Linked DNA regions of Homo sapiens: all the other regions are linked to region 2. The links are contacts of gene promoters, found by promoter capture Hi-C in blood cells and fetal thymus (Javierre and others, 2016). All regions are on one chromosome and are shown on one strand. The core of a region is centred on a gene start or on the middle of the fragment in contact, and the rest is flanking DNA. Distances in the headings are between cores, read along the strand shown.

Evidence for each region. Contacts are between HindIII fragments. The CHiCAGO score rates a contact against its expected background, and 5 or more counts as called.
Region 1: a fragment that was not itself captured here is called in contact with the fragment with the promoter of CXCL3 in region 2 in 7 of 17 cell types (M0 macrophages, monocytes, M2 macrophages and 4 more); the score reaches 11.8 in M0 macrophages.
Region 3: a contact is called between a fragment that was not itself captured here and the fragment with the promoter of CXCL3 in region 2, in 1 of 17 cell types (M1 macrophages). The highest score is 5.9, in M1 macrophages.

What each region holds. Positions count from the first base shown.
Region 1 is chr4:73,718,048-73,722,608 of GRCh38, forward strand. INKILN (inflammatory MKL1 (MRTFA) interacting lncRNA) reads right to left here and starts at 3,023. Exons shown (of 3, transcript NR_185098.1): 1 at 2,937-3,023. The HindIII fragment of the contact is 1,751 bases long and covers 1,830-3,580 here.
Region 2 is chr4:74,037,392-74,041,514 of GRCh38, forward strand. It overlaps CXCL3 (C-X-C motif chemokine ligand 3), which reads right to left and starts at 1,298. Exons shown (of 4, transcript NM_002090.3): 1 at 1,121-1,298; 2 at 899-1,022; 3 at 702-785. The coding sequence starts at 1,220. It overlaps LOC105377275 (a long non-coding RNA gene), which reads left to right and starts at 1,554. Exons shown (of 2, transcript XR_938875.3): 1 at 1,554-3,556; 2 at 4,097-4,123. The HindIII fragment of the contact is 4,426 bases long and covers 758-4,123 here.
Region 3 is chr4:73,761,511-73,765,631 of GRCh38, forward strand. No RefSeq gene overlaps it. Among named protein-coding and RNA genes, the nearest start is that of CXCL8, 23 kb to the left of the region's middle. The HindIII fragment of the contact is 171 bases long and covers 1,262-1,432 here.

The DNA of each region.
Region 1 (4,561 bases), core at 1,455-3,954, 320 kb before region 2:
TTAGAGCCGAATTAGGGCTGTGTGTGGAAAGGCACATGTCCATGTTTTTATTTTATGCTTTCACTCTTTTTTCCCCTCACACAACTTGCACAATGAACCTGTTTTTCTCTCTCTCTTCAACTATGTGGTTTGTTTCATTTGTTTTTTAAACTCTTAGTGAGATTGCTAAAGCTGGGAGAAACAGTCACCGATGGGCCTCTCCTTAGGCTGCTCAGATGACTCTCTTAATTTCCATAGAGTTTGATATTTCTATGTTGACTGAGGAAACTGAGATATTTCTGACCACATATAGTAGACCAAACACTTAACTAAATATTTTTGCCTATGCTGTCTTGTTCAGTTCTCAAAACAGTCCGGGAAGTAGTAATTATTAGCCCCAATTTATATATGAGAAACTTGGGGAGAAGACAGATTAAATAACTTGGTCAAAGTCACATGGTGGGCAGCAGGTTTAGGATTTTTTTTCTAATGCACTTAACTCCAAACTCTGTGTTATTTTTATTGCACATTGCTGCATGTTGCCTAAATACCTGAAAGCATTGTTTCCATTTTTCCAGTTATTGGTCTCTTTTAAGAATAATAACTTCAGTTCTGTCATTTTGTTATGATCTAGTGGTAACCCAAGGAGGAAGGAAAACTATTGTCTCAGAGAAAATGTGATGTTGAAAGTCTAAAGAGTAGATTACCTTGTAAGTATTTTGGTTTCTAAAGAGAAAAATGTGAAGTCATTGAGCCATGAAAAAAGCTGACTCAAATTTAAAAGATTGTTTTGAGTATTAGTGTTCTAGCAAAATGACAGTGGTTTGTGGCAATTTCCTCCTTTAACACAGTCACTGTGGAAGGACTAGAATGGTTAGAATTACACCCTGGCCTAATCACCAGAAGATGGAAGAGAAGTAAATTATATGTATGAACTATTCTGAGCACAGATATTTACAAAGAACTACTAAAGGGATTACAAAAGGAAGATTCTCATTTATTGGTGAATCAGAACTGTGGAATTGAATGGTGCAATTATTTTATATAATGTGAGAATGGGCTAATGTGAGAAATCATCCTTAATACTCATATCTTTCACAGATTGGGGAAGAAAATCTTCCTGACCCTGGATGCAGGATTTCACAATATTTCAATGTTATTATGAGTACATAGGTAAAAGGTAGAAAGAAGATGTGATAATGATATGTCTGGCAAACTTGTGGCTACTCTGCCAAAGATAATCACAAGATACCAATAGTGGGATCAAGTGAACCTGAGTTGAGGAAGTTAAGTAAGAATGTTATTACTAAACAGAAGTACCTCAAGTCTCCCATGAAATATTCTGGCATTACCTCCCTTTTCAAAAAATGTTCTTCAAAATTGGTTATTATTTGGAGCGTGTTGATCATTTTCCCCTTTAAAGATGATGCTGAAACATTATGGTGCCTGCTTATGTTAATCTATTCTGAAAACATGTTTTCAGAGCAACAATGAATTGCTCATAAAAATTTTCCCTAGAGCCACGTTAGTTATATTCTTAGCAGTTGCTCAAAATTCAAGATGCTGGCAATAATTGTTTGCTTGTTAAAGTATATCTAATCTGGGGATTCATTCAGCTAATCTCTACTAGATAGATTGTAATCTTTCTCTTTTTTAAATTCATTTTTTTTTGTTTATTTTTTCGTAAGGCTGGTCAAGGTATGCTGAGTTAAAAAGTGAAGTGTCAAAATGACATACCATTAAGCTGACCTAATAGGGTAGCTCAAATAAATATCATATTTGGACTGAACATAGAGATTATTGAAAACTTTCTTGGTAATACATGGTTATTCTTTAGAATTGCATATCGAAGCTTAGTTTTGTAACAGCTCATATATCTCAAAGATTTTATGATTTTAAATACAAGCACATATTCCTATCAGAAATTTGAATTTAAATTCTGAAATGTAAAAAAATTCACGTTTTTTGAGAGAGATGACACAAAGGCAAAGCATATCATGGCCTTATCATAGCTATACTTTGAGACATCTCAACTTTTTGTGGGTGTTTGACTGAGGAACTTTAAAGGACCTATTTACTTTTTCTGACATATCCCTCAAATGAGACCAACACTGTTGAAGTTCCATTTGTAAATTTATCACTAAGACAGCTGCAGAAAGGGATAAAGAGGATGAGTGTAACTCCAGCCACTAGTTTAGTAGATGAAGAATCTGATGTCCAAAGAGATTAAGCGGCTTTCTCAAGGTCACAGAGCAAGCAAGCAATGGAGCCAGTGCTCAGAACCCAATTTTCTGAAGTCCTGCTCAGTTTAGACCACTTGGGAAGTGCTTTAAAGCAAGGATAAATTATGTAAAATAAATTAATATGCTTAATTATCAGCCTTTAATATTGCAGGACAGAGTCTATTAACTGAGATTTATCTGGTCTGCTAAGCACGCAACAAGATGATTTTAATAATCAAGTTTTATAAATGGTTTACCATGAAAACTGTAGTCTACATCTTTCAGTCAAAGGGAAATAGAAGATCAAATGATTAGGTTAGTCCATAGATAAAATTCCAAATTTTATATGAGTTTCCTTGATAAGAGCCCTCTAAAGGGGTCTTAACACATAGGTTAGCTCTTGTGCCACTAAAAATGTTGTCCTTTTTGACATTTAGAATCTTTGTTCACTTTGTAAGTAGAAATCTCTTGCCCATAAAAACATGAACAAATATTTACAACTCTTCAAATTGTAGTTCTATTTTAGGTTTGAAATACACAACATTTGTACAAGTTAAAAATGGAGATTAGAATCTTATAATGTAGGATTTGGACGAGATGACTTCTAAACACACCTATAGTTCTCAAATCCTAGGTATGACAATAAGTGATTGTATTAGTTCATTTTCATGCTGCTGATAAAGACATACTCAAGACTGGGCAATTTACAAAAGAAAGAGTTTTAATTGGACTTACAGTTCCATGTGACCAGGGAAGCCTCACAAACAGGGTGGAAGGCAAGGAGGAGCAAGTCATATCTTACAGGGTGGCAGGCAAAGAGAGAGCTTGTGCAGGCAAACTCCCATCTTTTAAAACCATCAGATCTTGTGAGATTCATTCACTATCACGAGAACAGCACAGGAAATACCCGCTCCCATAATTCAATCACCTCCCACCAGGTTCCCCCCATGACACGTGGGAATTATGGGAGTTACAATTCAAGATGAGGTTTGGGTGGGGACACAGCCAAAACATATCAATAATTGAGTAATTGCTATATCTTATGTACAATGGGATTAGTGTGATAAATTTACTCATTCGGAAAAAAGAGAAAGGATCAGCAAAAGGGAGAAAAAACTTTCAATATTAACAATTATTTATTAGTGGTCTTAGTATTACAGAATCCAAATACCATAGAACTTTAAAATAGTCTGAAAACAAAGAGATTTAGATAATTTTTTCTCAAATAATTATTATTAAGAAGATTGCTGAATCTTGGATAATCAGTATCTTTATAATTTCTTCATTATGCTAGTGTTGTGTATTGTGCAATTTCCTTATTACAATGCTTCATGGGCTAATGACGCAATAGCAGATGTGTATCATGGATAAATGAGAAAAGCTTGTAGATTCTCAGTTCTGGAAAAGCCTTGGAGCTCATGGAGTGTGGTTAAGAAGGCAGGCTCTGGAATTTGATATTAAAGTTTGAATCCTGCTCTGTCATATACTCCTATGGGACCTTGAACAAGCTGCATATCCTCTCTGCCTCAATGTACTCATTAGCTAATTGGGATAATAATAGTACTGATCTCATAGGGTTATTGAGAGGATTAAATGACTTAATACATGGCAAGCGCTGAGGATAGTTCCTGGCACATAGAAAATACAGTGTTAAATATTCTCTGCTATACCTGGCCAGGATTCTCATTTAAAAGATGAAAAAGTGAAAGTCATCAGTAGCAAATCACTTTTTATATTCCAGAGAATAGAGCTTTGTTTGTCATAGATATAAATCTGTATGATAAATCTCACTGTATTCTACAGTGAATAATGACAGCTCATCCTGAACTTTGAAAATAACTTTTTTTTCAATAAAAGAATGAGTTCAGTTTGACTCATGTGGTCCAGTACAGGGTCACTCCAGGGCTGGCCTTATAAGTCATTGGAACATCTAACTGTCTATGTCGTGTCTTTAGGAGATCTGGGAATGCCCCTTGTCAAAAATAATTTCCACCCACTGACTGATGTCTGCAGTTTTCTTTAGTTTAAGGAGTTGTCCCCTGTTGAAACACACATTTTTCTATTAGAAATAACAATTTGAGTTTTTAAAAATCATTTCTATAATCTTGTAAAAGACAATTCAAGAGATAGATTTTGATAAAGGGGAAAGGAGAAGAGAAAATGAGGATTCCGGGTCCTACAAGTGAACCATCCAATTGAAGTGGTCTGGGAACTTTGATAGCAGATTTCCCCACATTTTTTAATTTGTATAAATTTACAGGGTATAAATGTAGTTTTGTTATATTCATAGATTATGTAGTGGCAAAGTCAGTGCTTTTAGGATACCCATCACCCAGATAACATACATTATACCCATTCTC
Region 2 (4,123 bases), core at 48-2,547:
GGAAGGTCTGTCTGTACCCACTGCCTTCTATAGCAGAAAACTTGCACTCCTGAATGCTTTTTTTTTTTTTTTCAAGAAAGAAGTGGCTGTGGACTCAACTAGATTCTTGGTTTGAAAAAGCCAAAACATATTGGTCACTGATTGTCACATTGGGTTAGAAATGTCCATTCATGATCTCCCTTAAGCTGCACACAACCCTATGAAATAACTACCATTATCTACCCTATTTTGCTAAAGCTCAAAGAGATTAAATAACGTTGACAGGGATCCTAGCCTTGAACTCACTGAAGGTGTTACTGCAAAGTTTCTGCTCTTCACCAAGAAGGCTTACAGGCCCAAAGTGCCCAAACCAGACATTGCATTTTTCAGGTCTGAAGCCCATTAGGGACTGAGGTAAACGTCCCAAAACAGGCAGGGGGCATTTTGGCATTGTTAGTCAAATTTACTTAGTATTCTAGAAACCCACATTTACCCTCCCAGGGGTTAGGCCTGGAAATGGAAGACACTGAAATACTGAAATATCCTCTGGCACCAGAGCAGATTAATAACCTTAATGGCAACTTTAATTGTGAAAATAATAATCACAATTTCTAGTCCTTCAGCTAACTCTTGGGGTTCCCTGATTTTATTTTTAGGGGGCAGATGCCAGTATTTCTGACCAACGGCTCCAGTCGCCTGTGTATATGGAAATTACAACTCACTTGTTCAGTATCTTTTCGATGATTTTCTGAACCATGGGGGATGCGGGGTTGAGACAAGCTTTCTTCCCATTCTTGAGTGTGGCTCTGCAGAGAGAAGGGAATTCCGTGAGACAGGAGGTCGGGCTGGGGACAGGGTTGGGGCAGCGGGAGAGTCGGGGACCCCAGCGGTGGCAGCGGAAGCGCGGGGCGGGACTTACATGACTTCGGTTTGGGCGCAGTGGGGTCCGGGGGACCTTACATTCACACTTTGGATGTTCTTGAGGTGAATTCCCTGCAGTGTCTGCAAGCACTGGCAGCGCAGTTCAGTGACCACGGACGCTCCTAGGGAAGAATAGACTCGCTGATTGAGCGGGGCTGTCGGCGCGGGGCGCCCACCCCAGCCGCGTCCGGCCCGGGGACCCCAGGGCGCCGGGACCCACCTGCTGCGCGCCGGCTGGCGGCCACCAGGAGCAGGAGCAGCAGCGCCACCCGCAGGAGCCGGGGATTGCTGGGGGCGGCGGAGAGCGTGGCGTGGGCCATGGGGCTCAGCAGACGCGTCGGGAAGCTGTGCGAGAAGCGGGAGAGCTGGCGGGGAGGTGCCTGCGACCCGGGCTGTGTGGCTCCCCAAGATCGGCGAACCCTTTTTATGCATGGTTGAGACTGGAAAGCCCGGAGCGGCCGGGCCAGGGAAATTCCCGGAGCTCCAGATCGATCCGGAGTCCCGAAGGAAGGCGACGGCCCCGCCCCCGGGGTGGAGTCGGATACGGGTAGGGGGAGCCCACTGGTGACGCCTACGCCTCGCCCTCCAGAGTAACCCCCGTGCACTCTGGGACTTTGGGATATTCATTTTCTGCCCCAAATTCCTGGAGAGGCAGTGAGTCCACCTCGCTGAAGATACAGCCTGTGAGGGGGGACCTTAGGTCCCCGATGACCCCCCGCGTACGGGGTAGGGTTGGAGGAAAGAGCTGGGGGGACCCGTGAGAACCAGGACAGGAAAGGCACGACTTCTTTAGAGGAAGAGAGCTTTGTCTCCTTAGTTATCAGATTTGCTGGGGACCCGGAGACAGGCGAGTTTTCCCTCAGCTATCCTCTCTCTATATAGTCTATCCTCTATGTTAACCTCCCGGTCTCTGCCTCTCTCATTTTCGGTTTAGCGTTATTTCATGTACATCTAACATCATGCTCTCTGTGAAAGTACAGCCATCGTCTCGGATTCCAGAGAAGAATGTTCTACTTGTTCCTTGTTTTGCATATTCTCTAATCACACTTAGAATACCTTGTTTACGTTTTCCATTTGGTGGCAACAGATTATCAGTGTCAAAATTTGAATTCAGTGTTAGTGTCCGTGGAAGCCAGGGCTGTATAACATGACCTCTTCTTTTGTATCCTGCATAACGTCCTTCCTCCCTCTGAAATGTTGGAACTTCCTAAATCCCCTGGAGACCTTCTCCCAGTGGGAGGGATTCAGATTTGATCTAGAAATATGACACTGGCTGTCACTCTGAAGCTGTGGAGGGGCTGGGTCCAGCAGGATCATGGGCTCAATGTTTCTGGTTCTGTCTTTGCGAATGACACTAGAGAGTAGGTACCTGGTGTGCAAACACCATTCCCACTGAAGGAGCAAACAGCTGCCTGCTGATGACATTTAAACACCAGATCACACATAAAATCACATTTCATTTACTATAGAATTTTCTGGTATTCAGCACTGGGGGATCTTTCTCTGGAAACATTAACAGGGCACTTTTTTTTCTCGTCTGGATTTTCAGTCTTTTAACCTGACACCTTTGTCCCTTTTTCTAGTTTTAGATAATGTATTTTGATTTGTCATTAGGTTTTAGAGGGTTTAAGTGTGATTCTACAAGTTGGTCTCAGACCTCTTTGAGACGTGGAGTAGGATGGAGGAGAGGAGAAAGGAATGGCATCTGCCTGAAGCACAGGGCTCTACACAACCCAGCTCAAGGGATAAGAGTCCTTGCCCCTAACCAAACACAGAGCGTGCAACTGTGCTGCCTGTATTTAGTTGCAGAGTATCACTTGCAAGTTGTTAAGCCTCTCTGTGCCTAGCCCAAGGTGGTTATGAGAAATGAGTTAACATTTGTAAGAGACAACATGGATTAAGTGCCTTATTAATGGTTGTTAAATAAATAAAATGGACTATTTCCATTTTTAAAAGGCTATTTCTTTCCCGACATTGCCTGAACAAAAACTCAGCCTGCTATGAATTCTGTAAAGGAAAAAAGAAGAATCTAATGGAAAGTTTTACTCCCCAGTGTTTTTCACATTTAAAATTTTCTGTATCCCTTACTGCCACCCAACTCTCCCTGTCTCTAACTGATATAAAGCAGTGTGAGTCCTTAAGAAATCAAAGCACATCCTAGAAAGAAGAATGTTCATATAAACACCACAATCCCAGTTTCCAAAATGGTCTTGTAGTTACTGGTGCTCACGGGTATCTGTGATGTCATTACAATAATCTTGGACAAGGGATAGAAAGGTGTGCTAGAATGTCCTGTTACTTTAAAATAGACACTATAGGTAATATATATGCTCCATTCTTTTTCAATAATTTCCTCTCTCACATCTCCCTGACTACTTAAATTCCTTGAAAGAAAGGATAGATACAGAAAAAACATTGACCCAATGGAGGCCAAAATAGTGTCCCAAATGTCTTCTGCAGTTTCAAGCTGTAATAAATGCTGCAAACTTATAAATGAAAAATAAAGTTCAATTGGGAATTTATAAAAAACAAAAAAGTTAAATGTTTTTAATTTAGGAAGGCTTTCAGAAAGGAAGACACATCTGTACTTTACCAGGAGATGCACATAGATGGGAGGTCATTAAAAATTTGCTTGTTTTTCTTCAGCAAACATAAGGTAAATGATAAGAGCTTACAAGATTCTGGGTAAATGTGGAACATGCTGCTTTTTTATTTAATAACTTCATGCTATGGGCAAGTTAAACCTCTGCACCAGAGACAAGGGGCAGAGAATTTATTTAATGCTCTTCTAAGCATTTTACAAATATTGACTCATTCAATCTTCCAAACAATACTGTGAAGTAGATATTAATTGTTATCTTTATGGGACTTAATGGTTACAAACAAAGGAACTGAGGTACAGAGAGATTAAGTCACTTGCTTAACTTCATACATCCTTGAGGCTGGAAATCAAACCCAGAGAAAATGGCTCTTAACCATTAAACTATGGTAAAAATGCACTGTGATATATAATTAGTACTTTAAGGGGAGGAAGGATTTTTAAAAATGTATTTGTTCTTGACCTAGTTGAATAGCTTAAATTTACATATTTTAAAATGAAAATACATCAAAACGATAATATATCTTTGTAGTTTTGTTTCACTAACAGCATAACTCTCTCCTGTGGCATTGATGTAGCTCATTATCTTTCCTTAAGGTGCCCAATTCTGAAGAATAAAATAGG
Region 3 (4,121 bases), core at 97-2,596, 280 kb before region 2:
ATACCAACTCAACTGTGTGCAGATGAACAACTAGCACACTCATTGGAATAGCTGAAATAAAAACCAGACAGTTCCAACTATTGGTGAAGATGTGAAGCAACTGGAACTCTCAGACTTTGCTGATAGGAGTGTAAATAATACAGTTTGGAAAACCGGCTGCATCTACCAAAGCAGACATACACATTACCTTTGACCCAGTAAGTCCCTTATGTAAACTCGACAGAAAATGTGCACATATATTCCTAAAAAGACACGTAGTAGAATGTTAATAGCAGTACCCTCTGTGGTGGTCCTAGATTAGAAAATTACCCAAAAGTCTGCCAACAATAAAAAATATAAATCAAATATGATATATCATATAATGGAATACTATATAGCATTGCAGAAACATTGAGAATAGCTATGTATAATTATACACAAAAATATTAATGAATCTTACAAGCATATTGTTGAGTTTAAAGAGCCAGGCACAAAAACCCACATGCTGCATGATTCAATTTCTTAACAAACAAAAGCAGGCAAAAACAATGTATGCCTTTGAAAGTCAGAACCATGGTAACCCTAGAGACACAGGATGTGATTAGAAAGGAACATGGAGTAGGATTTAAGGGTACTGGTAATGTTCTGTTTCTTGATATGGGAGCTAGTTCAGTTTGTAAAAACTCTTATTGAGATTGAAATACGTGCACTTTTAAGTTATGTGTTACATTCAATAAAAATCTTTTAAAAATAATGAGTAAACATTCTCTGAGGTATAGCATAGAATGTGCAGAAACAGGAAAGACAGTTCATCATGGAACATGGACCTGGGGATAGGATTGAGGGTGAATGTGTGTGGAAAAGCATTGGGATTATAAAATACAGGGCAGTGTCACAATTTAGAAACACTAAGCTAAGGTGCAGCTGAAAACGTATGTGTGGGAGTTGGTCCAGATTCTCTGAGAAGCAGACATCAAGATAGGATTAGGCATGCAAGAAGTTTATTAAAGTAAGTGTATGTGAGAGGAAATGGGGAGGCAGCTGGGAGAGGCCGACAAAGACATCAGACCACGATGCGGGATTAACCTTGAGTGAAGGGGGAAGTGAATGTAGGTTGGGTGGAACATCTTGGACTGCAGTGCAGTTCAAGGGGAAGTTCAGTAAGGTCACTGGGGAATCATAGAGTCCAAGTCACCTGTTAGAGGAAACCTGCGTCTCCCCGGAAGCGGTCTATGTTAGTATTCTGCCATGCTTCTTTATCAGTTAGGAGCAATGCTTGGGAAGCTTAGTCTTGGGACAAAAGTAATGATGAATTTTAAAGCAAAATGTGTAGAGCCACCAGTCAATTATGCTCCTTGTAGTCAGGGATCCAGAGGTACATTTTCATGACTGCCACAAGAAGAAGACAAAACCTGTGACAATGGCCTGCTGGCAAAAGTGTCTCTAAAATAAAAGCTTTGACTTTTAGTATTTGACAATTTCCTTGGTGTAAATATTTTCACTACGCTGTTTTTCAAGCTAAAAATGGTTTTGCAAATGGTTGGTAAAACTTCTGAATGTCTGATAATCCGCTCTCATGACATAGTATCAGCCAGCTCCAGCATACCATTCCTTGTAAAGTTTGACTCTACAGGCAAAACAAAAGCCAATGTTTATCAGAGCAAAAACCTTAGAAAATGTTCACAATAGAAAGTCTTATGTTTTACTTTTTCCTAAAGTAAAATGATTGTCTAAAAGCTACTGATGGGGACAGGAGGCAGAGAAATTCTGGGCAGAAAACGGCGGATCCCTGGTGAAGCTTCAACCTCAAGCCTAAAACCCTGAGACCACAGCCCAAAGTGAGAACTTATAACCCTGTTTTCCCATTCAAATGTTGCCTTTTCCTAAGCCACCCATGGCCCTGCCCCACCCCATCATGTACCTATAAAGACCCTGGACTCAGCAAGCAAAGCAGAGAAGCAGCTGGATATTGAGGACTATAGCTAAATGTCAGAGAGAAGTGGCTGGACTTCAAAGGGACAGCTTGATGGCATAACTTTGGAGAAGAATCCTGCCGGAGACAGCTGGACTTCAGAGGAAGATTATCTTCCTTCCCTGTTCCCTTTTCAGCTCCTCTTCCCACTGAAGGCCACTTTCATCAGCAGTAAAATCACACACATTTAACATCCTTCAATTCGTTTGTGCAACCTCATTTTTCCTGGATGCTGAACAAGAGCTTGGGAGCCATAAGTGTGGATACAAAAGGCTGTCTAAGGCAGAGGACCCACTGAGCTGTTAAAACTTAAGCTGTCTGTGGACAGCAGAGCTAAAAGAGCACTGTAACATGCTTTCTGAAGCTTCAAGGGTCACAGGCATCCCCCTGTAGATGCTGCTGCTGTGGGGCCTGCACAGAGTTTGCCCCTGCCAGTACCCAAAAGCGCTCACCCCAAATCCTGCCCGCTCACCTGTGTGCTCCCTCCTGCAGTAAGTCTGAGTAAGTGGAGTTCACTCATGCCAGCACTGAAGTGGACAGCTGTTTCCAGCACTCCTGCAATCCAGTTCTCGCCTCATTCACTCACGCACACCCTTCTGCAAGGAGTTAAGAGCTGCTGGCTGAGTAAATGAGGCACCCCTGTTGCGAGTCCTGTGAAGGGGTCAGGGAAATATCCTGCTTCATGTGGGGGCCTATACAGGATATGTAAGAAGGGTGAGTAAATGCGGATCAGCTGGATCTTTCTCTTCACTTCTTTTCCAAGATTTCTTGTCCTCAGACTTTCCTCTGAGCTATGCTATTTGCAGGGGACAGGATGCAACCCTGTTACCTCTCTCTTCCTGGTGCAAGGAATGTTGGCTCTTTTTACCTTCATGGGGGTCTGGACTTCGTGTCAGACCAGAATAAAGTCCTGGGGCAACTGTAGGCTACTGGCCAAGGTCACTACTCAGTGTTGCCAGAAGGCCCTTAGAGGGGCTCCAGTCCCCAACTGCCCATTAGAACATTAACCAAGACCCTAGACTTTTCTATGGTATCTTTCCCTTTCTTCTTTCACAGTTTGACATGACTCCTATATCTTTTTTCGTAATAATAAGAGTTTTACTGCAAACAGCAGACATTTTACTAGATAGAATGAGCTTTTGGCCCAGCCATCAGATATGCGATTCAGAACAATGTGATTTCCATCTGTATTAGTCAGGATTCTCTGAGAGACAGGACTAATATGATACATTGTGTATACGAAAGCAAGTTTATTAAGTAGTACTGACTCACACGATCACAAGGTGAAGTCCCACAGTAGGTCATCTGCAAGCCAGTCCAAGTTCCAAAACCTCAAAAGTAAGGAAACCAATAGTACAGCTTTCAGCCTGTGGCCAAAGGCCTGAGAGCCTCTGGCAAACCACTGGTGTAAGCCCAAGAGTCCAAAAGCTGAAGAGCTGAGAGTCCAATGTCCAAGGGCAGGAAGCAAACAGCATGAGAGAAAGATGGAGGCCAGAAGACTTAGCCAATCTCGTCCTTCCATATTCATCTGCCACCTTTTATCCTAGCCATGCTGGCAGCTGATTAAATGGTGCCCACCCAGACTGAAGGTGGGTCTGCCTCTCCCAGTCCACTGACTGAAATGTTAATCTTCTTTGGCAACACTCTCAGAGACACACACTGGAACAATACTTTACATCCTTCAATCCAATCAAAAGTTGATACTCGATATTAACCATCACAAGTCCACCTCTTGTCAACTTGAACTCATATACATCTCCTGAAATTATACATAATTTTCAAATAAAGACAATAATAAGGTCTTAATTATGCCTTACATAGTACAGCTATCCTTTTGCAACTGGAAACACACCAATCCCCAACCCAAATGCTATTACATAAAGTTAATAACACTTAGATGCTGATATGAAGTCAATAAACCTTATGTCACATGATAAAGAAAAAAAAGAAAATGAAAATATTTTCTTAGTCAAGTGTATACATGCACAAACATGTTCTTGACAAAATAAGGAGAAAATACTCATGACAATTACAGTCCTCATCTCTGCATCTAGTCATGTGTTCTTAGCTGGTATTGATGACTACTTCTACTACCCATTCTGTATTCCCTTTGCCTTCAGCAAGCACTTCAGCAGGTTGTGGTTTTTTACCTGGTAGAGTGACCGAAACC